Regions from separate parts of the Homo sapiens genome. Here all the other regions are linked to region 1. The links are contacts of gene promoters, found by promoter capture Hi-C in blood cells and fetal thymus (Javierre and others, 2016). All regions are on one chromosome and are shown on one strand. Each heading gives the region's core, a stretch centred on a gene start or on the middle of the fragment in contact. The rest is flanking DNA. Distances are from core to core; before and after follow the strand shown. Region 1 holds the start of BIRC3 (baculoviral IAP repeat containing 3). Region 2 has its middle 4.0 kb from the start of MMP27. Region 3 has its middle 44 kb from the start of MMP7. Region 4 overlaps MMP20 (matrix metallopeptidase 20). Region 5 overlaps MMP20-AS1 (MMP20 antisense RNA 1). Region 6 overlaps MMP20-AS1 (MMP20 antisense RNA 1). Region 7 overlaps MMP20 (matrix metallopeptidase 20).

Region 1 (2,716 bases), core at 156-2,655:
TTAATAACACCAATGGCTTTTTTGCTAAAACCAATGGAAATGTTTGCATCTGACACTGGGACACACTTCCTCTTAGAAATGTCCCATTCCCTGGGCTTCTCTGATACCAAGCTCTTGGGATTCTTCTTTCATTTCTAGTGGTTCCTTCTCAGATTGGCTCAGTCCCCAGCCTCTCCTCTTCTGACTCATTCATTTAACCTACCAAGAAGGCAACCTCCCCAGTCCCAGGGCTGTTGGGCATCCCTACCCTTTGGGCATGCAGCACATCCATTTTTCTGACACTGGAGGGCAAGTGTGCCTTTTCTTTCTGCCTCCCGCTAGACAGTAAGCTCTTTTAGAATGGCAACTATTAATATGTTTCATCTCTGTACCTGCCCTCCCACTCATAGCATCTGCAGAGCTTGGTATATGGGGTAGACACGAAGACTTCCCGTTGAAGAAGTAAATGACTGAGACCTGAGTGACCACAGTACTTCTATCAATTTTATATTAATGACCACAGAGTCAGCTCAGTGATTGATTAGTATCAGGCTTTGGAGTCAGACATCGGGGGTGCCCAATACCAAGCAGTCCGGTAACCAGAAGCATGACCTTGCACAAGTAAATCTCCAAGAGCCTCAGTTTCCTCATTGTCAAATGGAGATAATTATGGTACCTGCTTCTTAAGATTATGATAATTAAACGTGAAAAATACATGTAAAGTCTTCAGAGACAAACCTAGCACATAGCAGGTAGCAGTACTTAATGTTAGCAATAAATAATAGCAAATAAAGTCAATATTTAATATTATTGTTACGTTAGCATCAGGTACATGCCTTCGACAATGTATTGATCAGAGTAAGAGCACTACTAGGTTTCCATGCTGATCACCAGGAAGACAACCAAAAACTGCTGTCTTCCTACCACCGCTTGGAAACATGCGTCCATTTGCTCATTAAACGTTTTACTTCCTTCCTGTGCCAGAGCTCTGCCTTAGGCTCTGTCCTGAAATTTATTTGGCACCTGCAAAGGCCCAGTGATAACTCTTGGCAACCGAATCAAAATGCCACAACTTCACAATTCCACTGGCTCACTCCAAACGTGAAATAGAAATTGAGCACCTGGAACCTATCTAGAGCCTGCTTTTGGGCCCTGGTGTTTGATAACTGCGCCCCACCCACTGACTCTCAACCTCTGCAGCGCCCCGGGCTCTAGCCCTAAGCGCCCCTCGGCCAGCCGCTGGCACATCTCTTACACCAGGGGAGGCGCGCGCGCGCGCACACATACACACACACACACGCACACACACACACACACACACCAGCCTTCCTTGCCCACCTGCTGCCCAGAGGCCGACGACGCATGCACCAGCAAGGACAAGCCCAGTCTTTTCAAGCGACACCTGTCGCCTGGCCTTTTCCGTGCCGGAGGGCGCGAGTCTCACGCTGTCTTTTAAATGCGTCACCCAAATCCCCACCCCTATCTGTACCAGGCGTTCCGCACTCCTCCCAGTGGTTTGCATGTGCACTGGTGCTTTCCTTTTAGGACTTAGGGGAACTCCAGCGGTAATAACCACACACACTTCCTCTTAATCAGTGGCCTGGCAAACCCACTCGGGGATTTCCATGACCCAAAAGCATGACTCTTAACCGTGGCATATCTTCGCGGCATTTACTGAAAGACATTTGCTTCATTGCTCGTGGGTCAGAGGAAATCTTGATAACAACCCATATAGAGAGGACGATCATTGCTTAGCCTGCCTGGAAAAGGTCAATATGCCCTGTTCTCCACCCTCCATCCGCCATACACTTTACACGTAAAAAGGTTAGGTTTTTCAATCTTCTACTATAGCTGCAGAAGTCCAGCATTTAAAAAAAAAAAAATCGAAACTTTGTGAAATATTTCTATTTATTTTTACTTTTTGTTCTGATCAAGAAAGTAAGAGGTGAAAGGAAATGTAGGGGTATGTGAAAAAAATCATGCAGTTCTCCTTTGCAGTTTATTTTACCATTTTAAAGATTGAAATGGCTTGGTAAATTTTCTGTATGGAAATACTTTTGTTTGGTTTGGTGAGTTGTTTTTTTTTTTTTTTTAATAAGTAGGGTGGAGTTGGCTACTTAAAAAAATCCCTCCTTTATAGCCTTTGATCTCACAGGGCAGGTTTCTGAGTTGCAGTGCCATTCTCAGGGAAACCTGACATCTTTGAGTCTAATTGCACTGCCATATTTCCCTCAACGTTCTCTAAGCAGTAAATTTAAGCAACTTTATCTGAGAGCCATCCGTACCAGGGTAACAGATGGATTTGGAGAGCTCATCTGATTTTCTATCTTCCAGTAGATCAAAGACAATTACCAACCAGAGACAGAGCCCATAAAGATTATTGGAGACTTCATCGTTCTGTGGAAACAGCATCCAGTGCATTCTGCACGCAATTGGACTGAGCTGAGGCATCCTCTTGTTTAGGTGGACTTGGCTGTCCATAGCAGCTGAAGTTCCAGTTGGAATTATTTCAGAAAGACTAAGTGTATTTATCATATGGAGATTTTAATCCACATTTGAGTCTGCTTCAATCAAGACTTTCTAAGCCATTTTCAACTCACTCCTGAGATTATTGAAAATAATTTGCAGGCCTTACACATTTTTGATTATGTACTCACCAGAAGAATTTTGAAAAGCTCTGCATTCCCTTGCCCATTTTTAACTTAACATTAAAACATAAAGCTCTTGTACATGTCAA
Region 2 (2,768 bases), core at 35-2,534, 390 kb before region 1:
GACAGTAAACTGTAATATGAAGTGTAATAAAGAATTCAGAGTTATTCCTTTTAAAAAAATTATCTTGTTGACAACATGTAGTATTTTCCAGCTATTACATTGATATTTTGAATGGGCACAAGAGATATAAAGACCTAAGCTTAGAATGCATTTATTTATTTTTTGTTTATTTATTTATTTTTGAGACAGGGTCTTGCTCTGTCACCCAGGCTGGTGTACAGTGGTGCAATCACAACTCACTGCAGCCTCAAACCCCTGGCCTCAAGCAATGCCCCACCTTAGCCTTTCAAGTATTTGGGACTACAGGCACACACCACCACACTCAGTTATTTTCTTTTGTAAAGGTGGGGTCCCACTACATTTCCCAGGCTTGTCTCAAACTCCTGGGCTCAAGTGATCCTCCTGCCTCGGCCTCCCAAAGCGCTGGGATTACAGGCTTGAGCCACCATGCCACCCTGCCTAAGCTAGAATTTAAACAATGAGATTCATGTTTATCTTAGGTTGAGATTCTTCAAAAGCAAAGCCTAAGTCAAGACATTGGTGCAATTATATTTTCAGGACACAGTCCCAGGAAGCAAGAGTGAGGTAGCAAGAAGAGTGAGTCAAAGAATGAGGAAAAGCCAATACAATTATGTGTTATCAAGGTTTCTGCTATGGGCAATTGAAGCTCAATTCCACCAGGGGCCTCTGAGAAGCCTGCAGACCAGCTTCCAGTCGTTCACATCTCCAGTGAGCAGGAGGCTGGAACATTCATCCTTCAGTTTCCATTCCCCATTGGATGAGGATGTTCCCTGAGAGTGTTAACTTCTTTACACTTCCAGGCTGTACTGTCATGCTGACCTGGAAGGCTTGATGGCATCTCAATGCTCTGGGAAGAAAGCAAAAAGACACACAGTCTGTGCTTAAAGTTGTATTAGGTTGGTGCAAAAGTAACCACAATTACTTTTGCACTTTGTCAGAGCAAAGTGAGTTACACAAACCAGTCCACCCCTTGTGCAACTAAATTAATGCTGTGGGTATGTGGCAGAGGACATCAGAAGAATCTCCTACAGCTTTGTTCCTTGGAGATTTAAATGATGGGAAATTGGATGAGCTTTCTCTGGAGTAACTTACCAGCCTCAGAAAAAAAAGAAATTACAGATACCAACACTGGAGAAATCTCAGTGTGGCAGGGCTGCTAATGACCTATCTTAACCTTCAGTCTACACTTCTTCTGCAGTGAGACTCCAATTTCATTTGAGGTAGCAATGCGTCATATTTTGTAGCCTTGCTTACAGCTAGGCTTACAGCTGGATATGGCCATGTGTTTATTTCTAGCCAAAATGTGTAAGCAGAATGTTGTGTGGGGCTTCTGGAAAGGGACTGGAAAATTACTTTTTCTCTGCCTTCCTCCTTCTTTCTGCCTGTAATGCAGATGTAATGGCTAGAGGTTGAGAAGGCAGCTGACTCATGAGGCATTGTACTGACAGAGTGGTGTAGCAAGGTAGATGTTGCCTACCCTTGATGATATGGAGCTGTCAAACAAACCCTAGGCTTCCAAATCTGGGCACTTTTTTTTAATGTGAGGCAAAAATACATTTTTATTTAACTAAGCATCTGTTATTTTGGGTTTTTGTGTTACATTCAACCAAATCTCATCCTGACTAATACATCACATGAAGGGTGTGGGAAGTGCCCCACCTCCCTGCAGTGAAGGTCATCAATTCACCATCCCTGCCTCTACACATGAGAGCTTCCAGTCTGCTTTCTTGCCTCTCATTCTTAAGCAGATTGCACAACACAAAGTCACCAAATATTTTTGAAAAGATTGCAGTGTGAAAAACAGAGACCAAAGGAGAGACTTTGAGGAACTAGAGACAATTGTAGGAGCAAAAGAAAATGTCGAAATAAACTAAAGTATACTTAACATTAACATTCTTTAAAAATAAGAAGAGACTGGGTACAGTGGTTTGTGCCTGTAATCCCAACACTTTTGGAAGGCTGAGGCAGAAGGACTGCTTGAGGCTCAGCATTCAAGACCAGCCTGGGCAACATAGTGAGACCTTGTCCCTACAAAAAAATAAAAATAAAAATATTAGCTGGGCATGGTGGCATGCAACTATAGTCCCAGCTACTCGGGAGGCTGTGGCAGGAGGATCACTCGAACCCAGGAGTTTGAGGCTGCAGTGAGTCATGACTGTGTCACCGCATTCGAGCTTGGGTGACAGAGTATGCCTTCTTTTGTTTATTTAAACAAACAAATAAATAAATATAAGAATTAAATATAAGAATATAATTTTGGATGTAAAATATGTCTTATTTATTTAATAATTTCTTATTTATTTAGTTATGAATTATGTATTATTAATTATTTAGTAATTTATTTAAATAAATAAATAAGACATATTTTATGTCCAAAAACACTAATGAAATGCAAAAAAAAAGCTTAAAAATGTAAAAGAATACTCAGAACTGGAAAGAGTTCTTGGAAATTAAATGTCTTAGCTGAAATTAACAATCGGTGGGCTGGAAAGTTAAGTTGGTAGAAAATAGGATATATTAGAAGCATAAAGACTCAATCTAGGAGGTCCAACAGATATGGAAAGAAAGAAGAGAAAATGAATGGGTAGAAAAGGAGAAAATGAATAGGAAGAAATTATAACCAAAACTATATTGGAAAGTTACCTTAAATTGAAGTTTCCATGAAAAAAAGGTCCACTTACTGTCCAAAAATGTTAATACAAAAGACCTACATCAAGAGCATAACTATAAAATTTATAAATATCTAG
Region 3 (2,875 bases), core at 259-2,758, 260 kb before region 1:
AGTCACTTTTGCAAAAACTGCTAAGAAGGACTTCTTACTATCAATAAGCAAGGAGAAAAACAGGCTGGCAATTTCTTAAAATATTTAACGTAGACTTACCCTATGACACAGCAATTTCACTCCTAAGTATATACCTATGAGAAATTAAAACATGTCTACACAAAAAACTTGCACATAAATGTTCATAGCATCGTTATTTATAATAGCCAAAGAGTGGAAAAATGTCCATTGAGTAATGAATGAATACGTAAAATGTGGCAAATTCAGACAACAGAATGTTATTCGACAATAAGCAGAAATGAAGTCCTAACACATGCTGTAACATGGATGAAGCTTGAAAACATCATGCTAAATGAAAGAAGCCAGACAGAAAAGGTCACATATTGTATGATTCTATTTATATGAAATGTTCACAATAAAAAAATCTATGGAGACATAAAGCGGACCAGTGCTTGTCAGTAGTTGGGGGAGGGGGTTATAAGGAGTGACTACTAATGGGTATGGGGTTCTTTTTTTTGGGATAATGAAAATGTTCTAAAACTGATGATGGTGATGGTTGCACAACTCTGTGAATATATTAAAAGCCATTAAATTGTACACTTTACATGAGTGAATTATATGTTATGTTAACTATATCTTGATAAAGCTGTTACATTAAAAAAAAGAAGGAGATCAAAGTAGTGTGATGATCCATGGAGGTCATGCATTCTGGCAACTGTGTCAGGGACCACATGACAATGAAGCACCAGCCTGAGGACATCCAGTGCTGCACGCAACCAGCCAGATGTCCTCCTCATGTCCAGCACTAGCCCAGAATCGTGCATACAGAAGACACTTCACTAGTCAATGAATTCACTGAAAGCAATAAAGCATATGCTCTCAGGTCTGACTGATGGATTCAAACTCCAGATCTTCTATTTTCAACTGTGTGATGTTGACCAAATTCCCTCATCCTCATTCTCTGTCTCAGTGTCTTCCTTTATAAAATTGGAATAATGGCAGTTTTTATCTCCTAAGGATATTTAGAGCCTTAAATATATGAGTCAAAATATGCAAAGTAGTCCCTGGCACTCTACAGGGGCTCTATAATTGTTGTTTTTGAAGCCATTAGAGTTCATTTTGTTTGGTGATATTTTGGAGAATTTGTATATGTCCCTTGAGATAGCTAAACATCTGATGAGCTATAATATCACAAGAATTGATAATCAATGACCTGAAATTTTTCTCTTCCAAATGTCAAATTAAATCAAATAATTAAAAATACTATGTTTATCCCCCATCTCCAAAAAATAATTCTTATAAATCATTATTTTTTGTTGAGTTAAAGAATTCTTGGCTTTTAGGCCAGGCATAGGGGCTTACACCTGTAGTCCTAACACTTTGGGAGGCCAAGGTGGATGGATCACTTGAGCTCAGGAGTTTGAGACCAGCCTGGGAAAGATGGTGAGACCCTGTCTCTACTAAAAATACAAAAAATTAGCTAGGCATGGTGGCGCATGCCTGTGGTCCCAGCTACTTGGAAGGCTGAGGTGGGAGGACCACTTGAGCCCAGGGGTCAGAGGTTGCAGTGAGCTGAGATTGTGCCACTGCACCAGCCTGGGTGACAGAGCAAGACCCTGTCTTAAGAAGAAAGCTCTTTGCTCTCAGATATAAAATTAGTATGTATTTTGGAAAAATACAGTCTCTCTAAAGCACAAGAAGGTGTGATTGTGTCATAACACAGAGCACTTATCCTCATATGATACAAGAACGTTGTGCAGAAATAATTTATAACATAAACTACTCATTTGACTTCAGAGTAACTGAGTGCAAACATGACTTATTAAATAACAGTTTTGGACAAAGTGTGGTTGAAGTACTCCCTTGAGGATCACGAGGTAGCAAAACAGAGTTCACTTCCTGATGAATTCTATGCATTATCCTATTAATCTCAGTGATGACTCTTTGTGGGCTGAACCTTTGAAAGCACTACACAGGCTACTAAGGATGAATGGATTCACCTCCTTGGGGAGCTTTCCTAACAGCTCCATATTAAATTTTCTCTGGTATAAACCAAGCCCTCTTCCATTTAGCCTAGTCCTAAATGAAAGACCTAAGTTTGCCTTTGGGTCTTCTGTTTCTTTTCAAATGTTTATTGCAAAACACCTTAGATGTCCATTTCACAAAGCAAATGGCAAAAAAACTATGCAGTTTTTCATTCAGAATTCTGTGTATAATATTTTTAAATGCTCACAGGGTCTTCAGGGTGCTTTTATTTATATATTATCCAGATGTTTTTCTTTATTCCTGTTAGTTATTTTTCTTCTACAGACAATGATATTGAAGGTTCTTTGTGAATATTCATAGCTAAAATTACCCAATGAAGTGCCATTTGAGAGGAAATGCATACTGCTGGCCAATAGGTTGGTGTTTTAGACTACCATAATGGAGCTTAGAAGAGTCCAAGCCAAAAGATCGTCGGCATTTCTCCCCAGTAGGTCTGGGTAAAAAGTAGAAACAGCATCTTCTGATCATCTGTCATCTGCCAAGTCTCCTGTCTTTGGTCTCATTCCAATCCCTACGTGGCTTGTCAACATGATCAGTTTAAAAGGTATCCTGTTATACTCAAAATGTCATAATTTCAGGTTTGCTCCCAACACCTAGACCCTTGGAATTGAACTAGAAGCAGAATTGGGAAGCTTGCTGGTAAATAAATTACAATGGGAAATTAGTGAATGGCTTTGGGATCCAAAATAGGACTCTTTTTTTTTTTAATGCAACATCTCTTCATTTTAATGTCTTCTCCATTAGTCTTAACATTCTTTCCTTTAATCTAATGTATCATTTAACATGTTTGGAGATGAAAGTAAACTTTTGTTGCACAATGCAGCATGTT
Region 4 (2,776 bases), core at 251-2,750, 290 kb before region 1:
ACCAAAACTTTGTTCTGTCGGCTTTTTAAAAAAAAAAAACAAACTAAAACTGGGTATCCTTACTAAGATTTTTTTAAGTGGTAAACTATATCCCTTATTTTGTTCTTCCTCCTCCTCTTCTATTAAATTTGTAATGAATTGTTAGTTAAAATAGATAATTAAACAAAAACTTAAAAAGCTTTAAAAGTTAGGATTTTATAAACACCTTTATGACTTTCATATGTTTTCCACATGAAAGTATGTCAAAATTACAGAGAGATTTTTGACACTTCCTTAAACTGTATTGTGCTATAGAAACAGAAAGCACACACTTGTTCAATTCACTATCACTGTCTCAGCTGAATCAAATTTGAAAGGTCATTCTGCTAACAGGTTCACATTCCAATCAGTGGGGTAGGTTTTGCTATCGAATGCCGCCCCCCCGCCGCCCCGCCCCGCCCCAGTCGTTCTCCTTTTGTAATCTGTGGCACATGCAAAGTCCACAGTATCCTATGTGTCAGTTAACAGATGTCATGATAGCAACAATAACCCAAAACAGGTGTTTTTTTATTGCTAATGCTTACTATCTTTGCAGTATGAATTAGCCTTTTTTATTTTTCAATGGGCTGTTACTCATTGACAAATGAACTTCCCATTATAACAAATAAATACTGAAAAGTGAATTTAAGTGTCAATGCTACTCAAAATGTCCCTTTTCTGTAATATGATGCGCCCCTCAGAATTTCTAGAAGGACTCAATCTTGTTGGCCTTTCTCCCCACTTGTTTAGATCACGGGGATTCCTATCCATTCGATGGGCCTCGGGGGACTCTAGCCCATGCATTTGCTCCTGGAGAAGGCCTGGGAGGAGATACACATTTCGACAATGCTGAGAAGTGGACTATGGGAACGAATGGTATATATGCACAATTCACCATAACCTGGAAAATATTGTACCTTCTTCTGGGCTCCATCATGAAACCTTGAGGTTCAACGTCCCAAGCCACCCTTTAACTAGGGGGGCTGGCTAGGAAAAACAAGTAAGCCAAAAATCCAAAAGGGATCACATAAGGGAAAAAAATCCACCCCAAATTGTGTTGTAGACTTGTCTGATCTGTTTCATAGCATATCATCTGAAGAACCAGTCATCCCCTTCTCAACGCACTGCTCTCGTTTCCTTCAACAACCTAGTATTTATGATTTCTTACTTATTCTTGGAAATGGGCTACATTCAGAAATGACCCAAGAGAATCAGTACTGTCCTGAGAAGTGTGTTGGGGATGGGAATAAAGTTTCCAGAATATCATACAGGTCATCTGGAAATCTTCAGTGTGAAACGTGTGGATCAAAAGGTGTAGGCTGTAATAGCAGGGAACTATTAAGGCATTTGTGGTCTAAATTTATGAATTATTGCCAAATAGCATTGCCACTATTTGTTCCAAGGCTCTGCTTTATCAGTCTACCAAACATCACTGATGATGAATAAAATGGATTGATGTGCATTTCTGTCCTCCCCCACCCCCAACCCCCTTCTAGCCAAGGGGGGAAGAATTAAAGTCACCAAAGCTAAGTGCCAGAATAACCTACCAACCTTTGAATAATCCAGTTAGGAGAAGGAGATGGGTTAACTGTAATGTGGGCATAAATTATACTATAAAGATGGAAGATGGAGAAAACAAAAACCTGTGTTGATACTGTTTTTTTCTCTCTCATATTGTCTAGGTTTTAATTTGTTTACCGTTGCTGCTCATGAATTTGGCCATGCCCTGGGCCTGGCCCATTCCACAGACCCATCAGCACTGATGTACCCAACTTATAAGTACAAGAATCCCTATGGATTCCACCTCCCCAAAGATGATGTGAAAGGGATCCAGGCATTATACGGTAAGATTATTACCTTCTTTGATGACTCACCCTGAAATTGGCAGGCATTCAGTCTCCGAATTAAAGAAAGTGCATTTTATCTGCATTGGTAAAGATCAATCTAGAAACCATAACCCCAACTATGCCTTCTTGTGAAGAGCTGATTTGCTAGTTATAAATATGTGTGTGATGTGTGATTAAATTTTGCATCTTTCCTTTACAGCATATTAGTCCTGGATAGCCTTAGAAAATATAGTCATTTGTCGGTTTATGTTTTTCCTTTGAGTGCAGGTTAGAATTTACACATTGGGAGAGGATGGATATAGTTTATAGTTCATATATGTGGTGCTTACCCATTTGCAGATAAGTGACCTTATCTCCCTAAAAATAGCAATCATGATTAAAATAACTCTGCACCCAGTCATGTAGCCAATCTGCAGTTTACAAAACAGGTTCATGTGTGTAGTCTTACACCAGCCTCACAACCAACCTGTGGGGTGTGAAGTGTTTTCCTCATTTGATAGCTGAGAAAGCTGAGGTTTGAAGACAGTAAGTATCCTAAGATATCCTAAGATAAGTTACCTCAAGTATTAATATTCTTCCAAAAGGTAATAAGGGATTATTAGAAACTCTGTATCCAATTTTCCTTAAGGGAAAAACAAACCAATTAATCCATCAGAAGGAATCTTGAAACATCCTTAGACCTTGACAATTTTTCTTTAATGGATAAAAGGCAAAAAGATCTAGGAAATTGCTTTTCCTTTGAGCCCTGGAGACCTGGTTATTAGGCTTCTGATTATCAGAGCTTCTCCCCATCTTCTCAGTGCCTAGAGACCCAGATCCCCCAACAGCTTCCTGGGGTGCTAGGAATCTGGCCCCAGGGGATCTGGAGGGTGGGAAGCCCAGAAATGGGCACACCATTCAAAATCAGTCAG
Region 5 (2,742 bases), core at 40-2,539, 360 kb before region 1:
AGAAGAGGAACACTGAGTAAATTTAAAATTTAACAAAGATGTAACAGCCAGTCACTCCAAAGAATATAAGACACTGGAAGCAGGTCTTAATGGGAGCAGACGTTAATACAATCACAGAGCTGCAGCTTCCTCAGGATATCATATATACACAGTCAGTTTGATTAGCCTGAATGCCCAAGACAGTTTCTTTTCAGTGTCCTATGGTGGCTGCAGCCAAGTGCTGACTGGCACACAGCTGGCTGGGCCAGTTCTGAAGCTTGCCTGGAAGGACTGCCTTCTGCTCCCCCAGGCTGGGCCTTTCTCCTACTGGCTAACCCCGTCCCCAACATTTAGGTAGAGCCCTTGATTGCAGGTATTGACCCAGGGCTGGGTTGGACTTGAATTTGGACTGCTGGGCCCTCCTTTTCTTATTCCATATTTCAGTACTTCACAGCTTTCTCATCACACTGGTAGTAACTTCCTCTTAGCTCTTTCTTGCATTCCCCTGAGGCAATTGAAAGGAGCACTGACTGATGATATAGTTTGGATATTTACCCACGTCCAAATCTCATGTTGAATTGTAATCCACGGTGCTTGAGGTGGGGCCTGGTGGGAGGTGTTTGGATCATGGGGGCGGATCCTTATACTTTGGTGCTGTCTTCGTGATACTGAGTTAGTGCAAGATCTGGTTGTTTAAAAGTGTGTGGCACCTCACCCCGCCACCCTCCTCCTACTCTCTCTCTTGCTCCTTCTCTGGCCATGTGACGTCCCTGCTCCCCCTTTGCCTTCTGCCATGCTTGTAAGCTTCCTGAGGCCTCCGTGGAAACTGAGCAGATGCCAGCACTATGCTTCTTGTAAAGCCTGCAGAACCGTGAGCCAATTAAACCTCTTTTCTTTATAAAAAGTACCCTGTCTCATATATCTTTATAGCAATGCAAGAACAGCCTAATATAACTGATGTTGATGTTGCACACTGGCTTGATTCCTCCCAGATTTCTTCTACTGCTGAAACTCTGAAACCTACCCCTCTTTGGAGGAAGATGTGATAACTGCACTATTCTAGTGGAACTCCAGTGAATCTACAAAGAAAAATCATTCATATCTTTTACTGTCTCTGTGGAAGGGACCATCTTTTCTCCTGGAAAACATAAAATGCATTTAACAATTTCTTCCTTAGAGCAGTAATTCTCTATTCTGGATGCAAAGTTAGAATCACACGGGAGGTTTTTTAAATGACCAATAACTGGGCTCCTCCACCCTAGACCAATGAAACCTGAATCTCAGAAGGGTGGGGCCTGAGATTCTGCATTTCTAACAAGTTCCCAGGGGGTGTTGCTTCACAGACTTTCTTTAAGTAGCATAAACTTTCTAAAATGCTGGTTCACATATGTTAGCATGCATCAAAATTACCTGGAGGTCTTGGGCCCCACCCCTAGATTTCCTGATTCAGTCGGTCTTCAGCAGACCTGAGAATGTGCATTTCTAACAAGCTCCCAGGTTATATTGATGTTGCCCATTTTGAAAACCACTATAGTTCACACTACCCCTGCCCCATCCCTACCCTAGCATTTTCGTCCTTCTAACACCACTGTGGCTACAACAGTGAAGACCTGAGAGCATAGAGAGCAAGACCAAGGAAGACAGGTGGAGAGCCCCTAATCCTTTTAGTGTTCTTGGGTCTGATTCCCTAAATTTAACTTCAGGATTTGGTGAAGGCCACCAGCTGTCACCCATGCAGTCTCCTCTGTCCAAAAGTCCCCATTGAGTGCCACGTGTTTATCAAACAGAAGCCAACCTCACATTTACTCAAGCTTCCTCAGAAGCAGTCACTCAGTTCCTAAAGAAAACAGTCACCTCCCTTGGCTGGGCCAAGGGTTTGGGACACTGGAATGAGAGGTTATAGCCAGTTGTGAAACATCTTTCCCAGAAAAGGCCAACACCCACCTGGCATCTGAGGCTTTAGGAATCTGTTTGAAGCATATGGACTTTCATTAAATCAATTTGGCAAACTACTTGGAAAGAGAATTTGCTTACAAGAATCATCTAAGGACAGAAAAAACATTTTTCTTTTCTTTTTTTTTTTTTGAGACCGAGTCTTACTCTGTCACCCAGGCTGGAGTCCAGTGGCACGATCTCAGCTCACTGCAACCTCCACCTCCCGGGTTCAAGCAATTCTCCTGCCTCAACCTCCTGAGTAGCTGGGATTACAGGCACGTTGCCACCATGCCCTGCTAACTTTTGTATTTTTAGTAGAGACAGGGTTTCACCATGTAGGTCAGGCTGGTCTCGAATCATGATGCCTGACATGACTATGTAGCTGGTCAGGGGAATGGGAAGCACCTGTTTGTAAGATAATTCCTTATTTATTCTTCTGGCCCAGGAAAGCTGCCATTAATTACTTCTCTGTTTTCATCCTTGGGCTCTGCATGAAAGGAAGAGAGGAAAAAGTAAATATAATTCCACTGTTTATGAAAAGCCCAGAGAAGTAAGAGTAACAAGCCAACTGCCAATTCTACCTGGGCTTAGCTTGGAGTGGGCGGTTACAAAAGAGGGTGATTCTATCAAGGAAGGTTTAAAAGAAAAAAAAAAAGACATTTCTAGAGCTTGATAGCAACAAGTCAGTTTCCATAAATCTCCACAGGGTTATTAGATGAAAACATCAGGCTTGGTCAGTGAGAAAATATTCAAACCAATGACCAGAAAGAAATGCAAACAGATCACAGAACCAGACATTCTGTGATTACTTCCTCTTAAACACAGACC
Region 6 (2,700 bases), core at 164-2,663, 340 kb before region 1:
GAGAATGGTGTGAACCTGGGAGGCGGAGCTTGCAGTGAGCTGAGATCGCGCCACTGCACTCCAGCCTGGGGGACAGAGCAAGACTCCGTCTCAAAAAAAAAAAAATAAACAAATAATAAAGTATGGCCTTAGAGAGATTACTAAAGTACATTTTTATGTAACTTTTTTCTAATTACAAAACACAAAAAAAGTACAGAGAGAAAAGAACAATACCTATGCATAATCCCTGCACTCCTACCGCAAGATAACTGCTTCTAATATTTATGTGCCTGTCTTATAAATTTTTATTTTAAAGAAAAAAACAGCTATAAGATAGTGTGATAGGTTCTACTTGCAGAAAAAAATATATGAAAGAAAAAAAGAATGGAGAATTACAATCTTAACAGAAGAAGTGCCTGAAATCTACTTTGACTAGAAAACCTAGAGGTGAGAGAGACAGAAAATTAAACATAATAACCATGTTTTCATTTTAAAACACACCTTTCAAGTAAGGATCCAAATGCTTCAGATATACTAGGCAAAGATGGGGTCCAAGAAATTTAAGAAAGGTTGTCTGCACATGTATTCACCTTGATTCTTTGTTAATGTAAGGTTTGGTATCTATATACCCTTTAGTTATACTCACTCAGCAGCTGTCAGCAGAATCATTACACAGGTTAAGAAACAGCAGTGTTGGGAATTTATTTTCCAATGACATATATATACAGGTCTTTCCAAGAGGTAGAAAGCTTAGGTCTCATAAGACAAATAATTGTGCTTATAAGGCATTAGATTTCGTGGTTGGCCAGCTGAATAGGTCCATTTCAAGGTCCTAAAAGAAGTAGATGTTGCACACACACACACACACAAACACACACACACGCACACACACACACGAAGATGGGTGAAACTCCTGCTGAACAACAATATTCCACCAGGCAACTGGCTAAAGGAGTGGAATTTACTTCAATGGTTGGAAACCTAAGGGCATCTACAGTGTTTGAAAGAAACTGAGAACTTGCTTTAGAAGTCCAAGTTTTAGTCCAAGTTCTGTCCTTTACCATCTGGTTGTCTTCGCAAGCCATTTCACTTCTCTGAGCCTGTTTTCCCATCAATAGAATGGGTATAACAACGTCCACCTTGAATGATTGGGGGGTTACATAATTTAGACGGCCTGGCATGTAATAAATACTGCATAAATGTAGCCCAGAGAATTGCTACACTGATAAAATAAAACAATACATGTGAAAGCACTTTGTAATCTGTATAGTTATCTGGGAGTGGGAGAAAGCCAAACCTCACCAGAATACTATTGTTTAGAACTAAGGATTACATTTAATAAGGGCCTCATACATCAAGGAAGGCAAACAGATTGAGACAACTCCATTTGATGAGGAGCTGCTGTCTCGAATGCCACATTGTAAAAAATATCCTGCAGCCATGGGTTCAGAAGGGACAAAGAAATACAGCATTAATGCCAGTTATTGTAGCATAATCGAAATGAGTTAGAGCTTGAGCCCAGCGGGAACTTACAGAAAGACGTTCTGCCTACACCCCGGCTCCCTGATCTGCAGCTGCACCACTGAATGTTGCAGAAAAAGGTTTCATGAACAGAAAATGGCAATCATAAGACTTGTAGGGTGTATACGCTCTTTTCAAGTATATCTAAGTGCATGATCTCAAGTTACTGGATATCAGCAAAAGAGAACAGAGAATATTTCCAGCCACAATCCAAGGACAATATGGAGTATCAGTTTCCACTAAATATGAGATTAATGATAGCCCTACTTGATAGGGTTTCTATGAGGAATAAATTAGATGAAATACATAAAATACCTAGAACAGATCTAGCATGGGGCAAGCGTTCAATAATATATAACTATTATTATAAGGATAAAGATGTATTATCTTTTGTTTCAATAATTCACAATATAATTTGGGATTAGGTTGCAAAATTGATGAGTAATGTGATACTCAAGTCAGGTAAAATTATTTATTAATAATCTCTAAATTATCAAGACCTGCAGACTTGGAAGCTCCAAAGCAAATAATACATGACTTTAATCACTCTTTGTCTTTCAATTGATACCTCCCTTTACCTAGGGCAAGGGAAGCTTCTGTTTTAATGGAAAGGAAAAGAGGGAGGACGGAAGGAATTGAAGCTGGAATAGGCTTGTACAATGGGACAAATAAATATAGTTTTCACTCTTTATGACCAATACATACAGTTGGCTTCATTTTACAGTTGGCTTCAAGTTAACAGTGCATGTGATGCAAATCAATTTACAATTTTCCTTAATAATTAAATCAAATAGTAATAAAATACTTAAAGCTGTCTTTTACTATGCCTCAGTCTGACAACGAGAGATAACTACTGCAAACATAATGAATTATGTCTTCTGGTATTCAACTTCATTTCTCTAAATAATGTGCTTGTGCATTTATTTCCTAATTAATGTATCTTATACATTATCTAGTGACTTCTGTTAATATTAGCTCTATTACATTCCCACCAACCCTCCACCTCCTTTCTTCCCTACACTTCCTCTTATATCACAGTGTTTATATTTTTATTATGTAAATATTGTTTATTTCCAAGTCAAATAGTTTATTATTATTACATTCCCATTCACATACAGTTTTCTGGTATTTCTTTTTCTTTTCTTTTTTTTTTTTTTTTTGAGATGGAGTTTCGCTCTTGTTGCCCAGGCTGGAGTGCAA
Region 7 (2,700 bases), core at 20-2,519, 270 kb before region 1:
AGTTAATGTTTTAAAGGGTATTCACAGTGTGATTCTCAATGGGGGAATTATCCACTCTCCCATTGTCTCTCTTGCCCATTTATCACCTGATCTTTGGTCTAATCTACCACCCACCAGCACCTGCAGTAAAGCATATACCTTCAGCCAGGCTGGATTGAAACTTAACAGCTAAGTTAAGAGATGTGGGCAGAGGTTCAAAATTCTCTGTAAGTTTTAGGATGGGGAGGTCAAGGCTCTCTGATTTTAGTGATGCTCTTTGCCCCCAGAGAAAATCGTACTGTACCTTTCCAACTGGGCCTCTGTGAGTGTCTACTAAGGAGAAGTCTTTTGTAATCTAGATAAATAGATTCACCGAAAAGTTGGTCTAGGGCATTAACTAAAATGTTAACAAGCTCATTTTTCTGGTTAAGGAAGGAAACCATCGTAGGCACTTCTAACCTTCTCAGGTTACAGAGGGTATTAAGTGATGTAATGCATGCAGACACAGATACCTAGCAAGGTCTGCATAGAGCAGGTGCTCAAAAAGAGTTATTCTTCAGCAACAGAACTTATATGGTAACTAACAAATAATTTCTTAACAAGTTGTGATGCATAACAAATTGCTTAAACCTCAATATTTCTCTGAGCGGCGATTCAGTCAAAAATCTGGTCAAAGGGAATTTCCTTTTTAAATACTGAAGGCCCCTAACATTGGACTGAAATTGCTGCTTTTGGCAAAACATAGACAATCCCTTCAGCAATGGCAGTCTTCTACTTTACGCACTCCAACACATACACTGGTGTATGCAACAAGGAGTAAGACAACCCTCACCTATAGCTCAAAAGTTTAGAGAAACCTATTGTACTGGCCCTATTCATAAACACCCCTGAATTCTGCACAGTGTGCTTTACAGGGCCTCATATGTGTGACATCTTATTGTCATATGAAGCCTTCTATTGGTTTGAAATTTAATTTAGCCACTAGTATCAGAGACCCCAAAATAATTGTGGCTTAAACACATGAGGGTTTGTTTTTCTCATATGTGTAAAAAGTCTGACAGTTTAGAGCCAGTATGGCAGGCTGGTGATCAACAGGGACCCAAGTTCCCTTAAACATTTTGCTCTGCTATTCTTAACACATACTTGCATTCTCGTGGTTGCCTCATGACTCGAGGTGGCCAGGGGAGCTTTAGTCATTATGTCCCTACTGTAGAAGGATGGAACTGAGAAGAAAGGACAAAGGAGATAAATGAAGTTTTGTAGGTAAGCACATGGCCATACTCAAAAATATGGAAGGTCCCAAGCCTCAAGTTATGGAATAAGAATTTCACTACATTGACATCCACTGAAAGTGTGTTAGGTTTTATTTGTCTTAGACATTTCTCAAGTTCTTCCTTGCTCCTCATGCTAGTTCAGTCTGTGACGTAAGTAATGTGCCAAGGGAAGAAAAGTCTCTGGAAATTCTGCAAGAACTCCCAGAGTTTGGACCCAGTTTTAGTGAATGAAATGCCATGAGGAAATGACCGAGGAACTTCCTCCACAGAGGATTGAAGGTTGGCTTGGGGCCAGGTTGGATTAGGCTCTAAAAGGGAGGACCCATGTCTCTGTGTGGTAGTTACTTATAGGGGAGCAGCGCACAGAGGACCACAATGTCAAATCCAAATAGGAGGCTCTACTATGTTGATGCCGTTACATGCTACATCAGCAAATGACATATTGGTTAAACTTTGCCAACTAGAACCACTTCCCCTTACTTTTATTCCTTCCTATTCTCTTTCTAGCAGGCCCTAATGGTTCCATCAGTTTTTCATTTTTTACATTATTTCCACTACCTATGGCTGATTTCTCCTTTTACATATTCTTCCTTGCCTACCAGTAGCAGAGCAGTGGCTACATCAAGGGATTTCTGGCAGCAGGGGGTGTCACCACCTCCATAATTCTTCAAGATAGTCAATGATTTCTGAATTTTATGCAAAGTGACTTGCAAATCTGCAGATCCTACCCCTTTTCAATCATATTGCCCCTCTACCCTGAATCACTCTTTCTGTACAGTCAGACTCGGGGCATCATTGCTGCAAAGTAGAATACGTCTTCCACATTCTCTTCTTCCTGAATGCCTCAGAAATACTAGAAATAGATGTTTTTATTTGAGGATTTTATAGTCACCATAAATAAATAAATAATAAGTAATAAAAATAAGATGAAATAGGGTTCAAAAATCTTGTTTTTTCATGTTTTAAATTTTAAAAAACTTATGACTAAACTACCACATTCAACCTACATTTATTAGACATATTATGTGTCAGCCTGTGTACTAGTGACATTCAAGAGAAGGTGTAGAGTTTGCTGGTTAAGAATGGGCAGAAGTAAAAAGTCCTAGTGTTAATCTTAACTCTACCAACAATTATCTGACAATTTGGATCACCTTTCTGTCTGTTTCATCATCTGCAAAATGGGGGTAGAAATAGTATACACTTCCTAGAATTATGGCATTGAAAGGGAAAAATGTGAAATGCCTGTCACATAATAAGCATTCAGCTCATGTTGGGTGTTATTAATGCCCTCAACAGATCTTACAGTTGAGGGTAAATATATAGATAAATAACTAACAGAAATCCAAGTGCCAAAAGTGCTCTGATACAAGACTTCATGAAGATCAGTGGGTCAAAACAAAGAGGAAATGGCCAACTTAGCAAAATTATCAGGAAATAATTCTTAGAG

Evidence for each region. Contacts are between HindIII fragments. The CHiCAGO score rates a contact against its expected background, and 5 or more counts as called.
Region 2: a contact is called between a fragment that was not itself captured here and the fragment with the promoter of BIRC3 in region 1, in 3 of 17 cell types (M0 macrophages, M1 macrophages and monocytes). The highest score is 7.2, in M0 macrophages.
Region 3: a fragment that was not itself captured here is called in contact with the fragment with the promoter of BIRC3 in region 1 in 1 of 17 cell types (total CD4 T cells); the score reaches 5.9 in total CD4 T cells.
Region 4: a contact is called between a fragment that was not itself captured here and the fragment with the promoter of BIRC3 in region 1, in 5 of 17 cell types (M0 macrophages, total CD8 T cells, M1 macrophages and 2 more). The highest score is 10.0, in M0 macrophages.
Region 5: a fragment that was not itself captured here is called in contact with the fragment with the promoter of BIRC3 in region 1 in 2 of 17 cell types (monocytes and M2 macrophages); the score reaches 6.2 in monocytes.
Region 6: a contact is called between a fragment that was not itself captured here and the fragment with the promoter of BIRC3 in region 1, in 2 of 17 cell types (M1 macrophages and M0 macrophages). The highest score is 7.5, in M1 macrophages.
Region 7: a fragment that was not itself captured here is called in contact with the fragment with the promoter of BIRC3 in region 1 in 1 of 17 cell types (M0 macrophages); the score reaches 5.8 in M0 macrophages.

What each region holds. Positions count from the first base shown.
Region 1 is chr11:102,316,173-102,318,888 of GRCh38, reverse strand. It overlaps BIRC3 (baculoviral IAP repeat containing 3), which reads right to left and starts at 1,405. Exons shown (of 9, transcript NM_001165.5): 1 at 1,318-1,405. LOC124902739 (a long non-coding RNA gene) reads left to right here and starts at 1,646. Exons shown (of 2, transcript XR_007062864.1): 1 at 1,646-1,803; 2 at 2,317-2,716. RefSeq lists enhancers at 104-153, 414-613, 1,415-1,774, 1,785-1,854, 759-1,958. The HindIII fragment of the contact is 7,438 bases long and covers 1-2,716 here.
Region 2 is chr11:102,708,376-102,711,143 of GRCh38, reverse strand. No RefSeq gene overlaps it. Among named protein-coding and RNA genes, the nearest start is that of MMP27, 4.0 kb to the right of the region's middle. The HindIII fragment of the contact is 2,285 bases long and covers 142-2,426 here.
Region 3 is chr11:102,573,101-102,575,975 of GRCh38, reverse strand. No RefSeq gene overlaps it. Among named protein-coding and RNA genes, the nearest start is that of MMP7, 44 kb to the right of the region's middle. The HindIII fragment of the contact is 2,345 bases long and covers 336-2,680 here.
Region 4 is chr11:102,608,023-102,610,798 of GRCh38, reverse strand. MMP20 (matrix metallopeptidase 20) reads left to right here. Exons shown (of 10, transcript NM_004771.4): 4 at 769-894; 5 at 1,701-1,862. Among named protein-coding and RNA genes, the nearest start is that of MMP20, 16 kb to the left of the region's middle. The HindIII fragment of the contact is 2,639 bases long and covers 181-2,776 here.
Region 5 is chr11:102,677,362-102,680,103 of GRCh38, reverse strand. It overlaps MMP20-AS1 (MMP20 antisense RNA 1), which reads right to left. Exons shown (of 5, transcript NR_183620.1): 2 at 2,320-2,401. Among named protein-coding and RNA genes, the nearest start is that of MMP27, 27 kb to the left of the region's middle. RefSeq lists an enhancer at 668-837. The HindIII fragment of the contact is 1,007 bases long and covers 786-1,792 here.
Region 6 is chr11:102,657,965-102,660,664 of GRCh38, reverse strand. The region is part of intron 1 of MMP20-AS1 (MMP20 antisense RNA 1); the gene reads right to left. Among named protein-coding and RNA genes, the nearest start is that of MMP20-AS1, 18 kb to the right of the region's middle. The HindIII fragment of the contact is 1,365 bases long and covers 731-2,095 here.
Region 7 is chr11:102,589,318-102,592,017 of GRCh38, reverse strand. All of the region lies in intron 8 of MMP20 (matrix metallopeptidase 20), which reads left to right. Among named protein-coding and RNA genes, the nearest start is that of MMP20, 35 kb to the left of the region's middle. The HindIII fragment of the contact is 5,969 bases long and covers 1-2,700 here.